3 separate regions of the Homo sapiens genome follow, and regions 1 and 3 are each linked to region 2. The links are contacts of gene promoters, found by promoter capture Hi-C in blood cells and fetal thymus (Javierre and others, 2016). All regions are on one chromosome and are shown on one strand. The core of a region is centred on a gene start or on the middle of the fragment in contact, and the rest is flanking DNA. Distances in the headings are between cores, read along the strand shown. Region 1 overlaps LOC105373740 (a long non-coding RNA gene). Region 2 holds the start of METAP1D (methionyl aminopeptidase type 1D, mitochondrial). Region 3 overlaps SLC25A12 (solute carrier family 25 member 12).

The links. The method cuts DNA at HindIII sites, captures the fragments that hold promoters and counts their contacts. A CHiCAGO score of 5 or more calls a contact.
Region 1: a contact is called between a fragment that was not itself captured here and the fragment with the promoter of METAP1D in region 2, in 2 of 17 cell types (monocytes and neutrophils). The highest score is 6.6, in monocytes.
Region 3: a contact is called between a fragment that was not itself captured here and the fragment with the promoter of METAP1D in region 2, in 2 of 17 cell types (neutrophils and monocytes). The highest score is 5.3, in neutrophils.

The regions. Positions count from the first base shown.
Region 1 is chr2:171,916,699-171,920,214 of GRCh38, forward strand. LOC105373740 (a long non-coding RNA gene) reads right to left here. Exons shown (of 3, transcript XR_923579.2): 3 at 251-345. It overlaps LOC105373739 (a long non-coding RNA gene), which reads right to left and starts at 103. Exons shown (of 3, transcript XR_923578.1): 1 at 70-103. The HindIII fragment of the contact is 7,608 bases long and covers 1-3,516 here.
Region 2 is chr2:171,997,496-172,001,491 of GRCh38, forward strand. It overlaps METAP1D (methionyl aminopeptidase type 1D, mitochondrial), which reads left to right and starts at 2,458. Exons shown (of 10, transcript NM_199227.3): 1 at 2,458-2,514. The coding sequence starts at 2,475. It overlaps LOC124905590 (a long non-coding RNA gene), which reads right to left and starts at 2,414. Exons shown (of 3, transcript XR_007087296.1): 1 at 2,184-2,414. RefSeq lists a silencer at 2,153-2,452. The HindIII fragment of the contact is 8,153 bases long and covers 1-3,996 here.
Region 3 is chr2:171,879,454-171,882,996 of GRCh38, forward strand. All of the region lies in intron 2 of SLC25A12 (solute carrier family 25 member 12), which reads right to left. Among named protein-coding and RNA genes, the nearest start is that of SLC25A12, 13 kb to the right of the region's middle. The HindIII fragment of the contact is 3,527 bases long and covers 258-3,543 here.

The sequences.
Region 1 (3,516 bases), core at 248-2,747, 82 kb before region 2:
AAACCTCCAAAAAGATGGATAAGTTTCTCTTTTTTTTTTTTTTTTGAGACGGAATTTTGCTCTAGTTACCCAGGCTGGAGTGCAATGGCGTGATCTTGGCTCACCGCAACCTCTGCCTCCCGGGTTCAAGTGATTCTCCTGCCTCAGCCTCCCGAGTAGCTGGGATTACAGGCATGCACCACCACACCCGGCTAATTCTGTATTTTTCTTTGAGACGGGATTTCTCCATGTTGGTCAAGCTGGTCTCCAACTCCGGACCTCAGGCGATCTGCCCACCTTGGCCTCCCAAAGTGCTGGGATTATAGGTGTGAGCCACCACGCGCAGCCAGATGGATAAGTTTCTAACTGTGAAAGAAACCAATACATCATCATTGAAAGAGACAAATGGTATTAAAGAATAAAAAAACTCATTAGGCTGGGCGCGGTGGCTCACGCCTATAATCCCAGCACTTTGGGAGGCCAAGGAGGCAGATCACTTGAGGTCAGGAGTTCCAGAACAGCCTGGCCAACATGGTGAAACCCTAAAATTACAAAAATTAGCTGGGTGTGGTGGCGGATGCTCACTGTAGCCCCAGCTACTCGGGAGGCTAAGGCAGGAGAATTGCTTGAACCTAGGAGGTGGAGATTGCAGTGAGCCGAGATCATGCCACTACACTCCAGCCTGGGCAGACTCTGTCTCCAAAACAAAAACAAAAACAAAAAACCTCATTAATCCCCATCTCTAAATTCCCCCTAAAGGCAACTATAGTTAAGTTTGTGAGGTATGCTTTCAGATGTTTTCTGTTTATATCAAAATATATTTTTATATAAATGAAATAACATTATATTTTTTGTAATTTATTTTTTAGCCTATTGTATAGGAGATAGAACATATTAGCCAGCCCCTTGTGCTAGTAGTTTAGGCTATTTTCAACTTGCCAGTGAAAATAATACAGCATTGAACATCTTTGTTTTAGTGTATCTTTGCATTTCTGTGAAATAGTTTTGCAGTACAAATGCTTAAAAGTGGAACTGTTGTTGCCTCAAAGGATACACAAATTGAAAATTTTGTTACATTTGTAAAAATGTGTTAAAATTTCTAAATTGCCCCTCAAAAGTTACTAATTTATACACGTATGGGTAGTACATTAGAGTTGGAAAATAAAGACTGTTGGTAATTTTTGTGTATTTAGGATAGGGGTCCTCTTACAGTAGTTTTCAACATGAGCCGGTCCATTTTTATTTTCTTTCTTTCCTTTTTTTTTTTTTCTTGAGACAGACTCGCTCTGTCGCCCAGGCTGGAGTGCAATGGCGGGATCTCGGCTCACTGCAACCTCCGTCTCCCGGGCTCAAGCAATTCTCCTGCCTCAGCCTCCTGAGTAGCTGGAATTACGGGTGTATGCCACCACACCCGGTTAATTTTTGTATTTTCAGTAGAGATGGAGTTTCACCATGTTGGCCAGGCTGGTCTCGAACTCCTGACTTCATGTGATTTGCCTGCCTCGGCCTCCCAAAGTGCTGGGATCACAGACGTGAGCCACCGCGCCCAGCCTATTTTCTTTCTTGTATCCCATTTGGAAGTCATCTAGCTGGATAATGGTTTCTGGATAATTGCTCTGGGAACTGAGACTCATAACTTTATGCTCATTAGCACTACGAGCTAAAAAAATGAGCTAACTAACTACTGTTATTTGTCTGTGTAAAGGTATGCATTTTGAAATGAAGACACATTACATACATGCATTTTTCTTAAAATTGATTTCCTGCATCAATTTTCTGATGACCATATATATATATATATATTTTGAGACGGAGTCTGTCTCCCAGGCTGGAGTACAGTGGCATGATCTCGGCTCACTGCAAGCTCCGCCTCCTGGGTGCATGCCATTCTCCTGCCTCAGCCTCCCAAGTAGCTGGGACTACAGGCGCCCGCCACCACGCCTGGCTAATTTTTTGTGTTTTTAGTAGAGACGGGGTTTCACCGTGTTAGCCAGGATGCTGTCGATCTCCTAACCTCGTGATCTGCCTGCCTCGGCCTCCCAAAGTGCTGGGATTACAGGCATGAGCCACTGCGCCCGGCCCGATGACCATATTTTTTTGTGCCAAATTTTAATCCATTCTGGAGGTTTCAAAGCAAGATAGTGAAGTTTATCAGTCCATATGAACTTGAGCCTGTACCAACACATGGTTGCCAGTTCATACCTAATAGTGTAATATGGCCCTTTTCTCTGAAGAAAATGCCTTTTCCAAATCTCCCTTACTAGAATAAATGTTATCATAGTAATACCACTTCATACCTGCATAGAGTTTTAGAGTTTACAAAGGTCGTTCACAAATATTATTCCGTTTAGTTTTTACAGCAACCCAGTGTGGTGACTGGGCAGTACTATTATCTCCACTTAATAGATGCAACAAGGTTGAACAAGCATGAAGTAGTAGAACTGGGACTAGTAGGGCAGTAAACTTCCCACAAGATATGTTGTCTCTTCCATATATATATGAGGATAGCATATTCCTTTCATAGAAATTTTATTCCATGATTGTAATAGTTGCTTTCTTAAATTCTCTTTAGAACAAAGTAAAATATAAGTTAAAAAAGGAAAGAAATCCCTACAAAAAAAAAGAGAATTTTTTTCCTTTTGGGTAATTTTCACATTACCTTTCCAAAATAAGTCATTCTTTTATCTTTTAGGTAAACTGTACCAAAACATCTATTCTGTAACATTAAAAAAAAAAAATGTGAGGATGGACATGGTGGCTCACACCTATTATCCTAGCATTCCGGGAGGCCAAGCTGAGAGGATTGCTTGAGGCCAGGAGTTTGGGACCAGCCTGGGCAACATACTGAGACTCCATTTCTACAAAAAACAAAAAAATTAGCTGTGCACAATGGCACACATTTGTAGTCCTGGCTATTTGGGAGGCTGAGAGGCAGGAGGATCTTTTGAGCCCAGCAGTTGGAGGCTGGAGGCTGTAGTGAGCTATGATTGCATCATTGCAATCCAGCCTGGGTGAGAGTGAGACCCTGTCTCAAAAAAAAAAAAAAAAAAAAAAGTGAACATCTAAGACGAGGACAATATAAAACCTCAATTCTGCAAGCAAATCACATTAAATGCTAGTCATACAATATATCAGTAAGTTTCATCATATTTTTTTCCTACAACTAACCATAATATCACAGGACTAATAATCTGTGATATACCACAGTTAAAACGTAATTCTTCTTGATTTCTTACTTATAAAGATCATAATTGCTGGTCAGCAATTGATCCATAGATAAGGTGATTTTGGAAAGAAATGATAAGTCTTGCCATTTTGAAAAGAAAAGTTTTTTTTTTTTTTTGAGATGGAGTCTCGCTCTCTTGAGCAGGCTGGAGTGCAGTGGCACTATCTCAGCTCACTGCAACCTCCGCCTCCTGGGTTCAAGCGATTCTACTGCCTCAGCCTCCCAAGTAGTTGAGATTACAGGCTCATGTCACCACGCCTGGTTAATTTATTGTACTTTTTAGTAGAGACAGGGTTTTACCATGTTGGCCA
Region 2 (3,996 bases), core at 1,208-3,707:
ATTAACCTTCATTTCACAGATAGGAGCACGGACAGAAATGGAGTAGAGAAGTGACTCAGTAGCGGTTACTCATCTAAATAAAAGCACTCTAATGCTCAAGATCACAGAATGTTAAAATTGCAAGGGATCCTAGATATCAGTGATCTAGCCCTTTATCTTGTTGGTCACTATGTATATATCCCTTTTTTTTTTTTTTTTGAGAGAATCTTCCTCTGTGGCACAGGCTGGAGTGCAGTGGCAGGATCTCGGCTCACTGTAAACTCTGCCTCCCAGGTTCAAGTGATTCTCCCGCCTTAGCCTCTGAGTAGCTGGGATTGCAGGCATGCACCACCATGCCTGGCTAATTTTTGTATTTTTAGTAGAGACAGGTTTCACCATGTTGCCCAAGCTGGTCTCGAATTCCTGACCTCAAGTGATCTGCCTGCGTTCGCCTCCCAAAGTGCTGGGATTACAGGCATGAGCCACCACACCCAGCTTATATCCCATAAGTTGATGGTTTTGGCGGACATGTGCTGGCAGCTTTTAACCCTTCTGCGGTGAGAAGGATGTGTATGAGAGAAGCCAGATCCAGGGTCAGTGGATGAGCTATCACCTGTGCAAGTTCATATTTGCTTCATTTCTAGCTCATCCCAGATATCTACATTCCATGCCGAACTTATTGAGGATTTCCTCACTGGATTCCACTACTGCTGGTGCCACCTGGGTCCTCATAGTGTTTCCTTTTCCTTTTAGTTGTAGGGGAATAAAGCATTCATTTATTTTCCAAGGGTTGGCTGAGTTAAGTCACATGAACATGTGTTCTATTTCAGATGGGTTTGAAACTAGGCTTGATGCCTTAAGGAATAGGGATGTCTAGATTTCTTTTTTCTGTACACTGCTTAAGACTCTGTGGCCAGCTAACTCTCAGGCTCCTTTGCTGCACTCAGATTGCTGGCCTCAGTTACACAGAGGACAGATTTGCCACATTCAAAAATGCTCTCCCTGGAATTGAAATGAGTTTGCAAAAGGTAGGAGTACATTTTATTCTCATTCTTGTGCATCTTATTTACCCTGATGGAAAGCATTACTTCTCTTTATCTTTCAAGGTGACCCAAAAGCATCCAAAACCAGGTTTTCCAGAATTATAGCATGTGTCCTCTAATGAAATGCCAACATTCACTCTCTTTAAAAGTAAAAATATCAAGATTATATAGTCATTAAAAAGAATAAGTCTGAACTAAGTGTTCTAAGATTTGATGCCTATGATGACTGGAATGGAAAAAGCAAGTCATATGATTCTATTTAAAATACTTACATTTGCCTGTGTGTAAAAGGCAAAGATCTCAATTGAGCACACGGTGGTTAACTGGGGAGTGGGACTATGGTATGTACAGAGGGCGAGGAAGGGGCTTGCACTTGTTCCTTATTTCTGAATTGTTCTGAATTGTCTAGATTATTCACTGAGTGTGTAGTGCTTAAAAATTAATTAGAAGACATCACACACATTCACTGAGAATCCTAATCAATCTTCACTGCATTTAAAGTCTGGAAACGGTTACATTCTCAGTTTGACTGGTTTCATGCAGTGTTCAATTGCTTCACCTGACATTCCTCGGGTATCGGGTTCTGTGCCGGGCACGGAGGCTACTAAGATGAATAACACCTGGTCCATGACAGGATGGCATCTACCCCAGAACACAGGTAAGAGAGACAGTGAATTTGGTAAAAATGGGCACCGTCATCAGTAGGCATACATCAGCTCCCTCATCTGATTCACAATTGGCCTTCTGTAGGCTTCTTCTCTTGGCAATGCAATTGGCAGGCGTCATCCTTTTATACTTAAACTCCAAATTTAGGATTAAGACTCCAGTTAATACTGCCAAGCAGAAGGCGTCCTTGGAGAAAGAGAAGTCTCCTGAACATACCCACTGGGGTACCTAGAATAGATTTTGCAGCGACACACAGATCCTGTGTTGTCTGGAGTCTCTGCTGAGTAATGTAGATTCTGGGACAGCAAAAGGGGAGCTGGTGACTTTGAACCAAATTTTACCTTTCAACTGAATCCAGGGGAATAATTTGCAACAGAGTGGCAGACGATACAAAGTGCTATGTTGAACACTAGATTGTGCTTTATTTTTTCCGCCCAACTTCACGTTTCCATGCACCAAAATGTTGATGCTATAAATATTGGATGCCACGCTTACCTGACAGGCTTCTTCCATCCCACCTGGGCGCGGGGGCTCAGAGCGAGCGCGCGAGCCGCGGCTGGAGCCCGCCTCTCGCGGCTGGAGAGGACTCAGCCGGCCGCGGGTTCTGCTGCTTGCCCGGGTGCCCTAGCCGCTTCCCAGCCAGGGCTCCCGCAGTCAGCCCCGCGCGCGCACGCGCGCTCCCCTCGGGCGGCCTCGACGCCTCAGGGCTTCGGCAGGGCTGCGACTGGCCGGCTCCAGCGGGCGGGGCGGCGAGCGAGTGCTCGCGGCCACGTGACCGACGCCAACATGGCGGCGCCCAGTGGCGTCCACCTGCTCGTCCGCAGAGGTAAGCGCGTGGAGGAGAGCCCCGTGAGGGTTCGCACGGTTGCTCACTAGGTACGCACCCGGGTCCAAAGGGATGCGCACCCGCGCTCAGACTTCTCGGCGCACACGACTGTACTTTCAGTGTTTACGAACACACGCAGGCACACACGATGACACATTCACACACCACAGGATCACACATACAAATTTGTTCACTGATCACCCGCCTAGAACACGTCACCACGTGGCATCTTTTCGCAATTACTCCTTGAGATTTGCGGGCCATTGTCTGAAGTTTTTTTCCCCAACTTCGGTTGTATCATTAGTGTAACCAACATTTATTCTGTATGCCGAGCAAGGAAACCTATGGTAATTCTGAAATGCATCTGGACACCCGGTTCCCTTCCCTAGAGCTTTTATGCAGGCATGCTTTTTGGGGACTTGCAAAATGTGATGGTTTTCTTCCAGTGACTTAAAGTTAAGAAGATAAGAAAGGATGTCTGGGTAGTTCTAAGTAGGTTTTATCCTGCGTGAGTGTTGAGATTTTAGTAAATATACAAATGCCTTTGCAGCAGAATTGGGGAAATCTTTGTTGGATTTGAACTAGGTGCTGAATCTTTGTTGGAAAGAACTAGAAAGTTTTTCCAAGGACGGGGGAAGAGGAAAACTATCATATTTTGAGGAGCTACTTAAGCGTCAGGCATGTAGGAACAGTTTTGTGAGGTAAATATTATTTTCATAGTAACAGCTACTGTTTATTAAGTGCCTTTTAAGTACACGATACTGTGTTAAGCGCCTTACATATGCTTGCTTCCTTTTAAAACTCAATGAATGAGACCCCGTCTCTACAAAAAATTTTAAAAATTAGTCGGGCGTGGTGACACATGCCTGTAGTCTCAGCTATTCTGGGGGTTGAGGTGGTAGGATCGCTTGAGCCTGGGAGGTCAAGAGGCTGCAGTGAGCCGTGATCGTACCACTGAACTCCAGACTTGGCAATAGAGCCAGACCCTGTCTCAAAAACAAAAACAAAAACCCAGTGAGTTAGGAATTATTTTCTCTTTGCAGAAGGGAAAAGTAAGGCTAGAGAGGTTAAGTAACATTACTAAGGTCGCATAAATGGTAAGAGGCAGATTGCTCATTTGAACATGACTCTAATTTTTTTTTTTAAGACTCATTTCTCGGTACTGCATGACGTGGTCACTCCATAGAAGTCAGTGTGTAAAGTTCAGCAGAGACAGTGCAGGATGAGTGTGTACAAAAAGTGAAGAGAGCCTGGGCACGGTGGCTCACACCTGTAAACCCAGCACTTTGGGAGGCCGAGGCAGGTGGCTCACTTGAGGTCAGAAGTTCAAGACCAGCCTGGCCAACATGGTGAAACCCCGTCTCTACTAATATACACAATTAGCTGGGCGTGGTGGCGCATGCCTGTAATCCCAGCTACTCGGGAGACTGAGGTAGGAAAATTGCTTTAACCCAGGAGGTGGAGGTTGCAGTGAGCTGAGAT
Region 3 (3,543 bases), core at 771-3,270, 120 kb before region 2:
GAGGTAAAGACCCTTATTAATCAATGAAATCAATTGAAGCTACCATAATAAAGAAGATCTACCAAAACAATTTTCCACTCAAAATAACCAAAAACCTTGGAAATAAAATAATGACCCAAAGAACCCAATAACTGGAACTAGAATGCTTCCCAAGGCAGATTAAGTTGAATAATTAATTTGCATCATTCCTTAAATAAATACTTTAGTCTCTTAGTCTAAGTAACCATGGGAACATACAAGAAGCATATATATGTATAAGCTTGGGCAAATCATGTCGCTTTGACAATCAAGGTGCTGCTCCTAGGGGGATGGAATGCCTTAATGTTGATAAGCCTTGATTAAATACCAAGATTTTTACCAAAGAGAAATAAGGACCTTTAACATAGCAGGGTGCAGAAAGTATTAAAAGATCTAAGAAACAGATCAACCAAATGCAATGTATGAATCTAGCTTGGATCCTGCTTTTTAACAAAGCTACTTAAAAATATATGAAACAATCAGAGAACTTCGACACTCAAAAGAAATTGATGATAAGACTTTTTTTAGGTGTGATAATGGTGTTATGATTTGGTTAGTTTTTCAGAGTGTTTATCTTTAGGAGCTACATACTGAACTATTTATGGATACTGCAAGATGATGTCTGAGAACTGCTTCAAAATAAGCCACTGTGGCTGTAATACAGATGAAGCAAGGTTAGCCATGATAATTGGTGACACTGGAATGACAGATATATGGTGATTCATTATACCATTTTCTCTTTTTTTGTATGAATTTTAAAGTTTATTAATTCAGTTAGAATTACAACAAACTTTTTAAAAAATAATTTCAAATCATATTTTATTTTTTTGAGATGGAGTCTCCCTCTGTCACCCAGGCTGGAGTGCAGTGGCGTGACCTTGGCTCACTGCAACCTCCACCTCCCAGGTTCAAGTGATTCTCCTGCCTCAGTCTCCCTAGTAGCTGGGATTACAGGCATGCACCACCACGCTAATTTTTGTATTTTTAGTAGAGGCGGGGTTTTACCATGTTGGCCAGGCTGGCCTCGAACTCCTGACCTCAAGTGAGCCACCCACCTCAGCCTTCGAAAGTGCTGGGATTACAGGCATGAGCCTCAATTCATATTTTAGATTAAGAGGGTACATGTGTGGGTTTGTTACAAGGGAATACTGTGTGATGCTGAGGTTTGGGGTACAAATGATCCCATCAGCCAGAGAGTTTGCATAGTTCCCAATAGTTTTTCCACCCTGTTCCCCTCCTTCCTTTCTCCCTCTAGTCATCCATGGTATCCATCATTATTCTATTTTCTCTAGATTTGTATATGTTTGAAATTTTTCATAACAAAGTTATTTAAAGGGCTACAGAAAAATAATGAAACAATTCTTTACACACTAACATACCTGTATCTCCAAATAATATTAAGTAAAAAAGGCGAATTGTATTAAAATATATAAAGCAAAGCTCCTCCGTTTACTGTATATCCTTGAACAAGCTACTTAACCTTTCTGGGGCTTAGTTTCCTCATCTGTAAAATGGGAATACTAATCGTTCCTACCTTATAGAGTTGTTCTGAGGATTAAATATGATGATTTATATAAAATACTTAAAATAGTGCCTGATACATAACAGTGACACAGTAAGCATTAGCTATTATTATTTATGTTTTTTAAAACCACAAAACCCCATATTTTCTTTTTTTGTTGTTGTTGTTGTTGTTGTTGAGACGGAGTCTCACTCAGCCACCCAGGCTGGAGTGGAGTGGTGTGATCTCAGCTCACTGCAACCACCATCTCCCAGGTTCAAGCGATTCTCCCATCTCAGCCTCCCGAGCAGTTGAGATTACAGGCATCCGCCATCATGCCTGGCTAATTTTTGTATTTTAGTAGAGATGGGGTTTCACCATGTGGGCCAGGCTGGTCTTGAACTCCTAACCTCAGGTGATCCAGCCGCCTCGGCCTCCCAAAGTGCTAGGATTACAGGCCATCGCGCCCGGCCAAAACCCCATATTTTCTGTGTAAATGTATGGGGAAAGATCAGAAAGAAACACGACCAAGAACAGTGGTTACCTCTTAGGTGGCAGGGAATTATTGGCTTTTGGGGTAGAGCTCAGGAAGGACTTCAAGCCTTCAGAAGTATTGGCTTTTGGGGTAGAGCTCAGGAAGGACTTCAAGCCTTCAGCTTTATACAGAATGTTCTATTTTTTTAAAAAAGTATTAATGTAGGGATGTGTAATTTAAGCAGCTCTAGGCTATGAGTCCTTTAAAAACAGGGATACCTTATTCATCCTCATACCTCTAGCACCTTGCACAGTACCTGGCTCTTTGTAGGACAATCAATAGCAATCTGTGTTGAACAGATCTGCTGAAAATAATGAGCCATGGGATGGGAGGGGTAGGGTAAGGACAGAAAAGAAGATGGGGAGAGGAAGACCACCATAAGAAAAAGACTAGAAAGAAGACTGAGAGAAAAAATTTTTCTGAAGAAAAAATGAGGTGAGGATACATTTCTTCTTCAGGGGTCCTAATTTTGGTTATTTTTTGTCATTTCACTTAAGGTATTTTTGCAGATAGTATGACAGCTGCACTGGAATGTTCTAGAAAGCTACCAAATACAGCAGTGTTGACTTGGAGGCACAGAATCTCTTGCCATCTCTGTCTCCCAGCCTCCCTGAGTCACCCCTAGGCTTCCAGGTTTTCCAATCCCTTATATGCTATACATAAACAGTTCTTGGTTTTAATGTGCCTAGCTTTCCTTCCCCCCTTCTGGTAACTGCATGCTAATTTTTCTTGAACATACACACCTCCCTCACCCTCAATTTACACAGGTCATTCAAATGGGGCTGACTCAACTGAACAGTTCCAGAGGTGAGCATGTGAACCAGATCTGGCCAATGAGAACACTGCCTCCTTCTAGTACATGGGTTTTCTTGGGGTATTAGGGAGGACAATAATTCCTAGACTTAACCTAGAAATTGGAGAAACAGTACCTTTTCTCTGCTGAATGGGTAGGATTTTAATCTGGGGATGCTCCACATGGCAAAGCCTGTTTGAGAATGAAGCTAGCACAACAGAAACCAAAACTAAGAGATGAAAGGTGCATGATCCCTGGTGACAGCAGTTAAGCTCCTGATCCACTCATGGCTAGAGCCAGTACATTCTAAGCCTACGCATGTTTAACCAAAATTCCTGTCACTGAAGACTGAAATAGTACTGACTAATATTTTCAAAATGTGTGTTTCTTCCAGTTCTAGAAACCCAACGCTGGCCATAGCAATGGTTTCAGTGGAAGATGCTTTCAGAAATTTCCACAGTACTAAGTAAGAGAAATCTGCACAGAACAGGGAGGTGGTGATTTTAAAAAAGAAAGTTACGCACAAAAAAAAAATATGTATTTTTTCAAGTCTGTGTCTTGGGATTTCAGAGCCTATGGCTGGACCGTTATTCTTTTACACGTCCAGACTGAGCGAATGAAGTTTCAGAAGAAAACTCTGCAAACATCTTCCATGGTCTCTCGGGTCTCCCAGCCTTAGACTGTGACTATACAACA